Linked DNA regions of Homo sapiens: region 2 is linked to region 1. The links are contacts of gene promoters, found by promoter capture Hi-C in human tissues and cell types (Jung and others, 2019). All regions are on one chromosome and are shown on one strand. The core of a region is centred on a gene start or on the middle of the fragment in contact, and the rest is flanking DNA. Distances in the headings are between cores, read along the strand shown. Region 1 holds the start of CLDN20 (claudin 20). Region 2 overlaps TIAM2 (TIAM Rac1 associated GEF 2).

The links. The method cuts DNA at HindIII sites, captures the fragments that hold promoters and counts their contacts. A contact is called where the count stands out against the background at its distance.
Region 2: a fragment that was not itself captured here is called in contact with the fragment with the promoter of CLDN20 in region 1 in 1 of the 25 tissues and cell types used here (dorsolateral prefrontal cortex).

The regions. Positions count from the first base shown.
Region 1 is chr6:155,261,612-155,266,139 of GRCh38, forward strand. It overlaps CLDN20 (claudin 20), which reads left to right and starts at 2,402. Exons shown (of 2, transcript NM_001001346.3): 1 at 2,402-2,677. All of the region lies in intron 5 of TFB1M (transcription factor B1, mitochondrial), which reads right to left. The HindIII fragment of the contact is 11,103 bases long and covers 1-4,528 here.
Region 2 is chr6:155,200,494-155,204,988 of GRCh38, forward strand. All of the region lies in intron 14 of TIAM2 (TIAM Rac1 associated GEF 2), which reads left to right. Among named protein-coding and RNA genes, the nearest start is that of CLDN20, 61 kb to the right of the region's middle. The HindIII fragment of the contact is 4,056 bases long and covers 1-3,278 here.

The DNA of each region.
Region 1 (4,528 bases), core at 1,152-3,651:
GTGGGAGGTGCCTGTGGTGCCTGAGCTGTGTCATCAAGGCCCCGGACCCCTGAGAGCTTGCACCTCCCTATTTAAACAATCAATGAGCCTGTCCCCGAAGGTTTCAGGTCAGCTACAGCTGCTCCTACTGGATGGAATGGGAAATAGAAGGCTTTGGTGGTAAGGGGCGGTGTGGGCTGGCGCATGCTGAGAATGTGCCAAGCGGCCTTTCCACACCCCAAATGCCCACCCCCAACATCCATCAGCCTTCTTGTGAAGTCCAGCAGGCTGTTCTTGTGAAGATTCTATGGTGGAACAGTAGTTATGAACAGTGACTTAACTAAGATGTCAAATGCTCTTAATAAATTTTAGTAAGTTTTTTGAATTGTGTGCTATATGTTGTTTCATGTTTCCTCAAGTTTAGTAACAACTACCTCTTCCTACAGGACTTCCCTTAGACTTTAACAAAACGCACCATAGAACAGTGCCCAGCTTGGAGAGGTCTGTGGTCATCAGGGAAAGAGGGACTGAAGAAGACAAGGGGCTGTGGAGTGGATGCAGGGTGTAGGTGGGGTAGATGTACTGCTATAGGGAGAGAAGAAAGGTGGTTTCAGCTCAGGGCAGTTCTGGGGAAGGAAAAAGAAGACCTGATCTATGAATGGCAGAGTGCAGGCAGCAGCCCAAGACACACTCCACTGACTTCAGATGTCAGGTTCCTTCCCACAAACTCTGAACTATCCTGCCTACCTCGCCTCCTCCTGATTTGTATAGAGAAGTGGTCCCAACTGTCAGGCATGTGTCTGGCCACTCTCTACACCTCGCCAGCCTTCTCTCACTGGACTCTCCATTTCCCTTTCATCCCCTGAGCTTCCTGGCACCCTTGTCCCTGCCTCCCGTTCTCCAGGACTCATCTCCTGTAACCCTTCAACTCCAGTTCTCCCAGTGACAAAGAGCCAATTCTATCAATTCTTACTAGCAGCCTGCTAGTCTCCAGAAGAAATACTCTTAGCAAAATCTGAGATAAAATCTAATCCCTGCCTAGGCCTAAAACCATGAAATATTATCAAAACTCTACATAAGGCTTACAAACTATTAAGACCAAAAGCACAAATACAGAGATAGATGCACTCTCTTCCAGTACAGAAACTGCCACTTTCAGCTTCCTTAGATTTTAAATTTTGGCCTCATCTTTATTTGCCTGATTTCATTCCTTTGAGATATAGTTGGTATTTGCAAATACAGGAAGTGTCTAACTTTTGCTTGATTTAAATAAAGTTTTAAAACCCTGAACAAATATAGTAGTACCCCATGTAAACTATAGCGTCGACTTCTAAAGTTTGAATACAATTCCAATACTCTGTTAAGTTGGCTTATATTATGTCACGGCTAAAAGAGAATTCCCCTCACAAATGCAGTTACTATTTAGTGGGAGATTCTGTAAAACTCAGCGTCAACAAAGCTCTTCCAGTTATGTCTCCTGCTTCTGGGACGGCCAGGACCTCTCCTGTACCACCCCTTCCTCTCCCTTTCCCCCAAAGGCACCTTTCAGAATTACTCTGAATGATGGAGCCCATTTTTTTCTAGAACTATAGGAAAGCTGCTTGGTAACTATGGTAACGAATACAAAAATGTTTTTTACTTATAATTGAATGCTTATTTAAAATTACAAGTATTATTTTTTCTTCCTTGAGTTTTAAGTCTATTAATGGGTTTGATTACAAAAAAGAAATCAGTACAAAGGCATCAGAAGTACTTAAAATATTCTAGTTTAATGCCGCCAGCCTTTTCCAAACTCAGTCCATCAGTATACCAAAATGACCTACTAAAATTTCAAATGAAAGGATTTAAAATGAATTTAAATATTTGCCTTTCTAACCCTATACGTCAACGCTGTAACAAGCTAAGACTGTTTCTCAGTGTTAGCAGCCTTGGCCATAACAGGCCCGAGGCAGATGTCCTAGTTTCCAGGCCAGGGTGTCTAGGACGTGACTGGTTATCAGCTCAGAGCAGCACTTGGAACTCACAAGGGACCCGGGCTAAGGAGATATTAAATCTTAAATCTTAGATATTAGATATTACAACTGAGAACTGTAATCAACATGATATACAGAGGACACTGAAGAGACGTACAACTCAGTTCCTGATGATTATCATATGCCCAAAAGCTAAGTCACGACCACATGCACAGACACAGAAACAATGCTGGCCACTGTCTACAAAAGGGTCTTCATTCAACACTCTCACGGTGTTCAAGACCATTAGAGGACAAGATAGTGGAGATGAAAAAATGATGAGGAAGTTACTATGTAAATAGCCAAGACACAGCCATAACTTAAGACAACAGAAGGGCTAGTGAAAAAAAAAAAAAAGACCACAGGGAATAATCAGTAAGACTTTAAAGAACAACATATAAGAAGGATTCAAAGTTCGAAGTGGGATGATCACGGGCAGACCTGGGTGGTTGGGAACAGGAAGCATATGGCATCTTGCAGGCTATAGGCACCACAAAATGGAACGCAGGAGGACAGGGGCTTGGGAGAGCCACTTCACTGTCGGGTAAAACAACGGAGCAAGATGAGTGCCTCCGGATGCTTGGTTTCCCCACCCTCCAGTGTCTGCTTGCTCTTCAAGTACCTCCACCAAGCTAATGACAGTCCACTTTAGGACATCACGGGCCTCGAGGTTACAACTTTCCCAGGTAAGGAGAATCCCAGGTAGAGGCAGCAAGTCACTGATGCCTGTGATATGATAATTATGCATGTCATAGAAAAAGAAAATACTGACAAATGTGAATGTAGATCACATTTTCTGGAATTGGTTCACTCTACCTGTGATCCATGTCCAAAAGCCAATTTAAGGAAAGAATTTCCACTGTAAAACCTTAAAGCTGACAGCATTCTAAGTATTTCAAACCAACTGGTTCAATAAAGATCAACTACACGGTCAGTACCTATCCTAAAGTTTACAATTTGTGTTATTGTAACAATATTTATTTCTGCAGAAGTTCTGTCCTCACCCTTTTTTCTTCCTACAGATCTTTGTTTTTTTCTCTTTCTTCTTGGGATCATAAAAAAAGAACAGATTTTAAACAGTCACATAGTGTTTCCTCTCAGAGCAGATGTGGTAGGAAGAACTGAGGCCAAGAGAATGACAGCAAACTCAGATCACAAGAGAAATAAGACTAAGAAATGTGGTGAGGGGGATGAAGAGTTTTTTTACTGTGTAAATTATGTAAATGTACATATGTATGTATGTAAATTACACCTATTAGTAATAACAACAACAAGATGAGTCAGTGTCTCTTGGTCCCAAGAGATTAAACAATTTCAGGGAGATGCACGTGTAATCCTCAAGAAAGCACAAATGGAACAAGAACTGACAATTGTTGTATAAAGGTTTTCTGTTACATTTAATCTGGAGTTCCTGGATGATCAGAGGGAAAAGACCTTCCTAAAACTAGGCCTTTTCCACAAACCACGCCCTTGGTGTCTGTGAAGCAGCAGCATCTGGACGTGCCCTGTGTTTCCTGTCCCGGGCTGTGCTCCCGCTTGGGTTTGTGGATGTGGCAGGAGCTGCCTGAGGCAGCTTCGAGGCTGCCCAGCCGGGCCATGGGTGTGGCAGCACATTGGCAACTGCCAGGGTCTGGACCCCAGCGCTGCAGGTCCTGAGCAACTCCCGTCCCTCAGAGAGAAGACAGGACCTCAGAGAGGCTCTCAATCTAAACAAACTCAGAAGGCACTTGATAAATGCTGCTAGTAATATTATTAAAAGACTGAGAAATAGAACATGCATACAAATATAGTAATTCATAATAAACCATAATTATCAAACGGACTAGACATCACACTGAAGATGCTTGGTCAGTACATTCGTATATTCATAGCTGATACTGTTAATTTCCTAAGGCTGGGACAGAAGAAGAACATTATTTTAGGATTAGGTCAAATCACTTTAAATTTGTAGGGCTGGAACAGGTAACTATTTTATCTTACTCTGAACTGTCATTATTTTCAAGATTGAATGGAAAGCAAAGAAGAAAAAACATTTGTATTAGGGTTCTCTAGAGGGACAGAACTAATGGAATATATATATATGAGTTTATTAAATATAAATATTAAATATATTTATATATAATATAAATATATATTATATATAATATATAATATATATTTAATATATAATATGTAAATATTAAATATATATATAAAGAAGAGTTTATTAAGTATTAACTCACATGATCACAAGGTCCCACAATAGGCCATCTGCAGGCTGAGAAGCAAGGAGAGCCAGTCCAAGTTCCAAAACTGAAGAACTTGGGAGTCCAATGTTTGAGGATAGGAAGCATCCAGCACGTGAGAAAAGATGTGGGCTGGGAGGCTAAGCCAGTCTCTCTTTTCACATTTTTCTGCCCACTTATATTCTAGCTGAGCCGGCAGCTGATTAGATGGTGCCCACCCAGATTGAGGGCGGGTCTACCTTCCCCACCTCACTGACTCAAATGTTAATCTCCTTTGACAACACCCTCACAGATACACCCAGGATCAATACT
Region 2 (4,495 bases), core at 1-2,500, 62 kb before region 1:
TTTACAGTGTACCATTCAGTGGTTTTTAGTATATTCACAAAATTGTGCAACCATCACTACCGTCTAATTCCACAATATTTTTATTCCCTCAAAAAAGAAACCTGACACCCATCAGAAGTCACTCTTCAAGGCCAGGGTCAGTCCCTCACGCCTGTAATCCCAGCACTTTGGGAGGCTGAGGTGGGCGGATCACAAGGTCAAGAGATCGAGACCATCCTGGCCAATGTGGTGAAACCCTGTCTCTACTAAAAATATAAAAATTAGCTGGGCATGGTGGCGCACACCTGTTGTCTCAGCTACTTGGGAGGCTGAGGCAGGAGAATCACTTGAACCCAGGAGGCAGAGGTTGCATTGAGCCAAGATCGTGCCACTGCACACCAGCCTGGTGACAGAGCGAGACTCTGTCTCAAAAATAAAATAAAATAAATAAACAATAAATAAATAAAAATAAAAAAAGAAGTCACTCCTTATCCTCCACGCTCCAACCCCCGCTCCTGGCAACTATGAATCTACTTTCTGTTTCTATGGATTTGCCTATTCTGGGCATTTCATATAAAAATGAAAATACAATGTGTAACCTGTCATGTCTGGCTCCTTTCACTTAGCATAATGTTTTCAAGGTTCATCCATGTTGTAGTATGAATCAATTCTTCATTCCTTTTTATGGCTGAATAATATTCAATTTCGCCTTCTTTTAATCCAAGAGAACCGTAGCACTTACTGAAAAGTGTCCTCAAATTTTCTTTTTTCCGTAGAAACTTTCTCTAATAGAATCTCATGTGTACTTTTGTCTAGGTTTCTTCTCAAAGTCTTTAAATAGAACTCCAGCTAAGTAGTTCCTAAGGGCTTTGAACTTAAATTCAACTTTATTAAAATTCTTGGAGTGTTTGAAGTACGGTATTGTCTGTTACATGCCTGAAGGTAAGTAAGTGTGGCATTGGGGTGTCCTCCCAGTACTAGTGGGTGTCCGTTTCCTTGCAGTGCCAAGACCTTGGCTGAAGATCTCTCTCGTCATTGACTGTGTATTTTTCACTGGGGCTCATAAAACCCCATGGGAGGCTCTGCACCTTCTTTCTTTGGGTTAAGCACGCTGCCTCAGTCACTGCCATAGCCTGCCTGGCGAAGGAAGATATGGGTACATCTAAACGCTCTTTTTCGTTGTTCTAAGAAGGAGTATTGCAGTCAGTGTGGAGGTGGCTGGCAGCACCTTTCTACTGTGAGAACATCTGCCATGTTCCTTTATGTATTTTTTCCCACTCTAAGGACATTTATCACAAGACAATTGAAACAGATCCTGGCAGCCTGCTATTAAGAAACATTTACTACCAGCATTTACTTTACTGCTCTCTGTTTATTGCCGGTGTTAGCTTGCATTGTCAAAAACATCACCAATTGGAATGTGACCTCAGGTTAAATGGACTTGGAAGATTTATGAATCTTTCTAGCACAGTATTTGTGCTATAATAGAATTTATTTCTTTGCAAGCTTAACAATAACATTCAGACTGCTGCTTTGAATTTCCCTGACATGAGTCATAACAATAAAAAAAAATGCAAAGTCCCAGATATGGTCAGAAGAGAAGACTGATTTTTATCTATATTAAGAGTAGGTAATAATAAATGGTGATCTCTTTGTTAATGGTGCAGTTTGGGACTTGACTCACCTTTGAATGTGGTCAACTCAAGAGTTACTTTTTTTTTCCCTCTCAGTTATTTCTATTATTTCATTTAAATGCTTTGTTTTCATTCTCTTTCACTGACTGATGATCAGAAATATTTGCCTGGATGGCACAGTACAGCTAATGTCATTAGTGAAAGGTGGCACAAACCACTGCATTTTAAAGTAAAAGTATGAGTAAAATTTTGGACAATCTGTGTTACTTAAAAATATGCATTGCTATACAAAGTTTACAAATTTAAATTTATTTAGAAGAAATTGTTTTAAAAGCAAGGTCTCACTCTGTCGCCTAGGCTGGAGTGCAATGGCACAATCACAAGCCACTGCAGCCTCTACCTCCTGGGCTCAAGTGATCCTCCTGCCTCAGCCTCCTGAGTGGCTGGGACTACAGGTGTGCACCACCATACCTGGATAACTTTTTTTTTTTTTTTTTTTAATAGAGATGGAGTCTTTCCATGTTGCCCAGGCTGGTCTTGTGAACTCCTGACCGCAAGCAATCCTCCTGCCTTGGCCTCCCAAAGTTCTCGGATTATAGGCATGAATCACCTCACTGGCCACAAAGTTAAATTTAAAAGGAGAGATTCTGGCTGGGTGCCATAGCTCACGCCTGTAATCCCAGCACTTTGGGAGGCTGAGGTGGGTGGATCACTCGAGGTTAGGAGTTTGAGACCATCCTGGCCAACATGGCAAAACCCCATCTCTACTAAAAATACAAAAAAAAAAAAAAAAAAAATTAGCCGGATGTGGTGGCATGCACCCATAGTTCCAGCTACTCAGGAGGCTGAGGCACGAGAATTACACCTGGGAGGCGGAGGTCGCAGTGAGCTGAGTTCACGCCACTGCACTCCAGCCTGGGTGACAGAGCAAAACTCTGTCTCAAAAAAAAAAAAAAAAAAAAAAGAGAAAGATTTGCAAAGATTTTCTTTGCAAATGTTCAATGTGCTGTTTGTACTGTGAGAACTGGCTGTGAGCATTAATGCAGAGTTTTGTAATAGTGGGTGAAGCTTGAAGAATTGAAAAAAAGTCTTAATTTTCTATTTACATAATGCTATTATGCCTAGGCTGGCAGCTTTGATTTACCCAAATTTTAATCTTTTCTTAAAATTACATTTGTACTTTTTTTAAAAAACAAAAGATACATAAAATGAAGGAATTGAATAGGGTGATTTCTGAGTTTCTTTTCTGATCTAAAATTCTTTGATTCTCTACGAGTTTTTCATTTATGGAATTGCATAGCATAAATTCTGAGAAACTGAATAGGGAAACTGAGTAAATCAAATAGATTAATAGCATAATTCAAATAAAGTACGTTATTTTTTCTGGATGTCAGTAGATAGTAGAATGTAAGTATTAAATGTCAGAGACGTGTAACTCTAATGCCAAAGTGGATTATGTAGTTGAAAACTTAATTAAACCATTTATTATTCACTTGTAACTACTTTGACATTATTTTTTAGATTTTTTTCAGTCTTAGAAAATTATTCTTCTGTAGTTTTCACATCAGAAGGGGTTTCTAAGGATTAATGATTTAATCAACTAAAAACATTTTTTGAGCCTGAGATGAGAGTCCCACTGAAATACACTTCATTGTTATTTGGCTGCTATATTTTTAATTGCTTTAGTGAGTATATTTTATCTTTCTTTGGGAAGTGAGGGAAACTAATACTCAGAGGGTGCAAAATGCTATGGGTTGGATGCATTTTGCATCCTCTGATGCCACTTGATTCTCTTAGAGGTAAAGTTGAGGTCCTGGCCACGGGGAGGGGCAGAGGCAATTCTCAGAGGTGGTGGCGCTGACCACCAGGTGACATTTTGGAAGTTTGTGTTTCTGTTTTTGGTCATCATAATGATTCCAGGGATGGTGACGTTTGGTAGTTGGGACATGGTTGCTGGACATCCGGCAGTGATCACGTTAATCCCATACATTGCACATTGTTCGACTGGACCTTAATGGAGGTTAAAAAACATGCATATAATTATCTGAGCTAGGAATTACCTCGATTTTACAAAGAAATGCAAATTATTTTTTCCCCACAGCTATAGGTACTTGGAATTTTCTGGGAAGATGGCAACCCAATAAATAAAGGAAGTACATCCTTTGTTTTGCTCAGAACTTTGCCAAGAGTTTTGTCATTTTGGAAAATCATGTCCCTGATGGTCATACCACCAAGACACACTGGCATTGGTCTCTGGTGAAGCTTGGGACAAGGCCTGTAGAGCCAGTGGCTGACAGCTTCCTCACGGCTTCTGGAGAGGTTCTGGTGCCATTTACATATGGAGTATAATTCAAACAAAGTATTCAAACCATAGTTTTTAATTATAAATTACTTTCCGTTTATTTTTCTTTTTGTCTTATTTTTAGGGTAGTATATTGCTTTTGGAGAAACTATGAAGGTAGATTATATTAAGAATGATTTTTATTTCAGGATAGTAAAAGTATATATTATCAAAAAGGACCCTTTGGATATGAGAGTATTAAAAATCAATGTACTATAATATATGCTTTGAAGCATGAAAAACATATTTTAAAAACAATTTTCATTCTCATGCCCGATACTTTTAGTCTATTTCAAATGAATCCTCAGTCCGCATATTGAAGCACGGCTTTTTCCGATGCGGTGACTGCTGTCTTAGTTCATTCGTGCTCCTGTAAAGAATAGCACACACTGGGTAATTTTAAAACAAATTTACAGGCTCAGAGTCCTAGAGGCTGGGAAGTCCAGTGTCAAGGTGCCATTAGGTTTGGTGATTCTGATTCCAGGATGGCACCTTGAACGCTGCGTCCTCATTGTGGCTGAAGGTGGAAGGGTAAACAGTG